Regions from separate parts of the Homo sapiens genome. Here region 1 is linked to region 2. The links are contacts of gene promoters, found by promoter capture Hi-C in blood cells and fetal thymus (Javierre and others, 2016). All regions are on one chromosome and are shown on one strand. Each heading gives the region's core, a stretch centred on a gene start or on the middle of the fragment in contact. The rest is flanking DNA. Distances are from core to core; before and after follow the strand shown. Region 1 overlaps PDE11A (phosphodiesterase 11A). Region 2 holds the start of HNRNPA3 (heterogeneous nuclear ribonucleoprotein A3).

Region 1 (2,700 bases), core at 133-2,632, 510 kb before region 2:
AATAGCTCAAGTAACAACCATTGCTTGGAAAAAAAAAATCTTCATTTTGTTTTTCCATATCCTACCTCAGTAAACAAGGTATAATGTTTTGTGTACAGATTTCATATGTCTGGCCCACAGAGGACATTCAATAAAAAACTTTTTAACCCATTATTTGGGAAAACCTATGGATTTATGCGAATTGCCAAAATAAGTAAGTAGGAACCCTGTTCAATGAAGGAAAAAGAAATGGCTGTGACATTTTTGAGTTAGAAATGTCAAGGACAGAGACAGATTTTTATAACAAACCTTAAAATAGTTGGAATAGGGGAAACTGGCAAGAGCAGCAGGGTCACAGTGGACACTTAGGAGCAAAAGGAAATATATATCCAGTTTTCTGCAGTGGGTATTTCCATTATATGGGCAATTTTGATCCTTTCCAAGAAATTGAAGAGAATAGAATTCTTAAACTATGTCACCACAATGGGGATGCTCATATCGTCAGAATATTTCCAGGGTACAGTTGTTTTTGCAAGTATGCTCAGCAATCTTGAAGAGCAGCATTGTTGGAGAAGGCTTAGGTTTTGTTTTTTTGCATTCATGCTAACACAGAAAGAGGAGACTTCATTGTCAAATTTCTCTAAGGAGGGTGGGTGGAGGAGATCACAAAACAAAAACATGACTTCAGAAAGAATACAACGTTATTTTGTTCTCCTTCACATTGTATTGAGTAGCCACATCTGGAAAAGATAGTATTTTCTGCTCATTAAATTTTGTTGAACTTAACTAAGGGTTACAGTCAGTTAAAAGTGTCAACATTTGTTTCTCTCTAACGTAAGTATCTTCTCCAAGCTTGACTCTGGTCAATCTGGTTAATCAGAATTTTTTAATTAAGAAAATAATTACAGAAGTAACAAAGACGACTCAATCAGTGTAGCTAAAAATAAATTTAACTCGCTCATCAATTCTCATCTCTGGAATGTGACTCGGCCTATGGTAAAATGATGCCCTATTTCTTACCACCAATGGGCACTCATGCTTTTGGCACTCCTGAAGATTCTAAAAGCCTTTCAATGTTTTGATCTTATCAGTGATTAAAATTCCATTCCAGTGATCTCATATTTCCTGTCTGTGGGTTGTGTTAGAACCAAAATTCTCTATTAATCTGGGGGGAAAAAAGAAAGAAAAGAAAAGAAACTCACCATGTACCAACCATTGGATTCAACCTGGGTCATGTCATAAGGCTAAGAAAGCACAGCGTGTGTGTGCTGAGGCTTCCTCTAGATGGCGCTCCAAGGCAAAGTTTCTCAGCTGGTTTCCAGAAAAGGGGGAAAAAACCTTACCCACCTTCCTTGAAAGTGCTTCTTTTCTTCTAGCACAGGGAATACTGAGGTACACACCCCACCACAAAATAAATGTTTTTCCTAAAAGAGATAGCAACAAAACCAGTCTGTCGGAAAAGAGCATCTCCCATCAGGATGGGCCTGTTTTATGACTGCCACCTTGCATACCGTGCTGTTAAAGTGAATAATAGTGTTCTCCGTGTGACCTTAAATCTGTGATTGTGTATTTTTCCAAGCCTATTGTCTCTGGGAATGGGGAAATGCATAGTTGTGTGTCACTGCTGAACAAATTTTGGCACCACGTACAACAGGACAAGCAAATTATAAATATATGCCCCAGCTTCCTAACCTTTAACCCTAAAATCACTTCACGGGTGGAAAATAAACTTATTGACTCAGCATTGTGTTTTGCAAAAGTATTCAGGTTCATGTGTAGGTAACAAAGCGGTTTTGTTCCTTTAGAAATTAAAAAAAAAAAGAACTACTGTGTAGGACAGGCAAATTGATATAAAATGATGAACATTTTATTCACTGGGAACCCTGTTAATGACTTATTAATTTGTTCCATGCCTCTGGTCTGAAATTTCACATTTATAAATTTGAAAGCTTCAATGTTATTCTTTGTTTTTAAAAAGATATTTAGATAGTTAAAATTTCCCAAATACTTTGAATTCCTCTGACAAATACAGTAGGTAGTGACAGTTATTATTTGTGGTTAAAATGAGGAAGAAAACCTGCAGATGAATGATCATCATATAAATTTTCTTTACTAATAGAAGTTTATAGAACAAATATTCCATCATGCACATACATAATAAATAAATTATAACTATAAATACATGATAAAAGATGAGGGACATATTTCTTATATTCACGATGTAGACTAGATATCGGAAATGACTCTGCTTTTGTTTGTATTCTGTAAAATAAAAGGCATGTAGTGGTGCCAAGGTTGCAGAGACATTTTTTTCGGTTTTATAAATGATGTATGAGCTCTGACAGATTTTCCAAGGGGAAAAAAAAAGATTTCTTTAAGAGTCAGTATTCTTTACTATCCCATAAATGTACTCATTAGCACTTTGAGCCATGCCCTGCATCCTGTAGGGTATCAATAAAGATTAATTGAATGAGTGAATTTAGTTTAGGGTAATATTATTCAAGGAACCATGTTGCTCAGTGTCCAGTTAAAAAAAGCTATAAAATGGTGAACAACTATTATTGCTTGAAATCTTGTTCTTTCTTCATATCACACTAAGGTTCAGCTAGGGTTCATATAGAATATTATGATCTTGCAGAATTCACTGGATATGAAAAGAGAAGAGCACATGATCACATTAAAATTTATGGTGGTGCAGGCAGCGTGGCGCTGGTGGGGAAT
Region 2 (2,700 bases), core at 191-2,690:
ACTATAAGAACGGAGTACAGCAAAACAAAAATTGAGATTTTTAAGAATTAAGATGTCTTGAAATTGTTTTATACTTTAGTCAAGACTTTTTAACACATTGCATGAACTGTCATTTAATGCATGCATTAAGGTTTCCTTCACCCGAAGTTCTTAAATAAGGGGCTCACATTTACATTCTAATGTCTTCCTGTGTCTCCTAGAGGTAGAGATGTTAAACCGTTTAATGTGAAGAGATTGTCACATGCTAGAAAAAAACGTTAATAGCCTAAAGCATTAATTCATGTAATCTCATCTTTTCAAGTCTTGGATAAATGTATTCGATTGACAATAACGAAATCGACAAAAATATTTAGGATCCACATTAAATGTACTGCAAAAACGTGAAAATTTCAACTCTGGTTGCAGTCCTCTAAATAAAATTCCAGGAAACTACAACCAGAGCCGACTCAAAGAATGGGAAAACATGAAGATAAAAAACATTTCTAAATTCTTCCTTAACATACTATACTCAAATTCTTCTCCACCCACCCTCCTCAGCGGCCGGAGCCGGGAAGGAGCTGGCTGGGTTGTTTTTCACATCTACACTCAAATTCTCAAAAATTAAGTCCTTCGCCCACATGGCGGTTTAAGAAGTGTAATGTAAGTACTTTAGCAAAAATATATCAGGAAGTATTTTAAAGCAGCAAAGTTTTTAACAATCTCGTATTTCCAACAGGATGCTGCGAAAAAAAGAAAAGGCCAATTATCGACTTCTCGCGGAGAGGACCCGTAAAAGGCCTAGAAAAGCGTCGGCAGAACTTCAGCGAAAGCACTACCTCCCCATGCTTCGAGGCCATTTGCGGCTTTTTCTGCCGGGCCGCCTCCGCCCTCTTCCCTCCAATCCCAGGCTCGCTTTCCCGGCGGCAGAGCGAGGCGGCGGCCATTGCGGGCCAATGCGCCATTTCGTAACGCGGCGGCGGATCAATGTCAATGTGGCCGCCGCCCGCTTGCTCGCTCGCCCGGATGTGCCTGCTCGTCCCCTCCCCTCCCCCACCACCTCCTCCCAACCGCTCCCGCCGGGGCCCGCCATGCCGCCCTCGGCCTCGCTTCGGAGGCCGCGCAGCCGGCAGGCCGGCTTCCCTCCCGAGGCCTCCCCGACCAAGCCGCGCCTCCAAGGGGCCGCCTGTGCAGCCGAAGGTGAAGGCGAGGCGGGCGAGGGGCCCCAAGGAGGTCTCCAACTCTCGCTCCCCTCCCCCTCCCACAGCCTGTCTCAACGCAAGAGCGCGGGACGGCCGACCCGGTCCACCCGGCCTCCCCGCTCCCACCGAACCAGGCCCCCAACGCCGGCCATTCCCCACCAACCCCCCGCTCTCCCCCTAATACCTCCTCCCCCCGGCGGCGACGGCGACGGCCGGAGTCGGGCTGGGGGCGACCGGGCGGCGGTTTTACCTCCATTTTGAGACCGGACTCGCCTCTTCCAACTCGAGTTCAATATGGGACCGAGAGGAAGAGGCGGGGCCAGTCGTCACGTGACGCGTTTTCCGCGCGCCGCCAGTCTGTTGGGGGAGGAGCGAATTGGGAAGGGGGCGGAGCCAAGCGGGCGCGAAGAGGGACTGGACCAGCGGGTTGGCGGGCGGAGGGCGGAGGCGCGGCGTGCCGCGGGAGCGCGCGCGCCTCGCCAGCTTTCAGGGGAAGAGGGCCTTTGCCGCCGTTCGCGTCAGGGCGAGTTCCGGGACGTCAGTGCGGTCTCCGCCAATGGTGAGCGTCCACGTAGAGGGAACGCCTTGTGATCGCGCGTCACCAGAGAGAAAGGCCTTTCCCTTTCTTCTCGCGCTTGTCCCTCATTCCCCACGCAGGCCTCTAGTTCTCCATTTCAGAATTCATTCTATTCCTGTGCCCGAAATAAAACCCACGTTTTTCTTGCTTGTAATTTAAAGGTTGCAAGAAAAACTCCTCGGCCCCTCGGACCATCTTTCCTGTTTCCAAATGCCGGGGACCAGTGTCTGTGACTGCGCCGCCTGCCTGAGGGCATGTACTGAAAAGCCCTGCGACTCCAACATGTGGGACTCACAAGCACCTTGGACAGGCCTCAAAACGCGGCTGACATACAGAATTTTTACCATTAACGACCTGAGGCAGGACTGGTGGAGGTCAGTTCATTAGTTACTGATCTCAAGAAACAAGTCAGGACTATTTTCTAATGTGCTTCTTTCAAGTTAGTGTGGAAAGAGCTGATGCATCTGTTGTAGCTGACGGAATTTAAGGAACTGAATAATTGACAAGATTTCCAGAAAAGCAGGGTCGCCAGATAATGCTACCTGTTTGCGAATGATTGTTACCGTAATGCTCTAGAGAGCTAATCCTTTCTCGGCCTAGTCAGATGATTTTAAATCATTTGATTTTACAGAGCTTTAGTTTCAGTTTTTTAAATGAAAATGGGGATGGGATTAGGTCATCTTCTAACACCCACGACAGCCATAAATTGATAATCTATGGATCCATATTTAAAGTTACTGATAAAAATAACCACAATTGACCAGCCTCCCTTCCCTGTTAGGAAATGCTTTATATTTTAATTTAGCAACCCATGTGACCAACCCTTTTAGAATTGAACTGGCTCTCCCTAGGAAAGGTTAGAAATCTAATCAGTTATAGTAAGTTTCTGTTAACAAATGGGGAGTGGTCGACTTGGAGTTTGGAAAAGGGGAGCGTAAAGTCTAA

What was found. Contacts are between HindIII fragments. The CHiCAGO score rates a contact against its expected background, and 5 or more counts as called.
Region 1: a fragment that was not itself captured here is called in contact with the fragment with the promoter of HNRNPA3 in region 2 in 1 of 17 cell types (fetal thymus); the score reaches 5.4 in fetal thymus.

What each region holds. Positions count from the first base shown.
Region 1 is chr2:177,723,423-177,726,122 of GRCh38, reverse strand. The region is part of intron 12 of PDE11A (phosphodiesterase 11A); the gene reads left to right. Among named protein-coding and RNA genes, the nearest start is that of PDE11A-AS1, 51 kb to the right of the region's middle. The HindIII fragment of the contact is 1,097 bases long and covers 834-1,930 here.
Region 2 is chr2:177,211,534-177,214,233 of GRCh38, reverse strand. HNRNPA3 (heterogeneous nuclear ribonucleoprotein A3) reads right to left here and starts at 1,440. Exons shown (of 11, transcript NM_194247.4): 1 at 1,363-1,440. The coding sequence starts at 1,434. It overlaps MIR4444-1 (microRNA 4444-1), which reads right to left and starts at 1,508; the gene lies at 1,435-1,508. LOC105373759 (a long non-coding RNA gene) reads left to right here and starts at 1,823. Exons shown (of 1, transcript NR_157853.1): 1 at 1,823-2,700. RefSeq lists an enhancer at 802-1,473 and a silencer at 1,013-1,802. The HindIII fragment of the contact is 9,993 bases long and covers 1-2,700 here.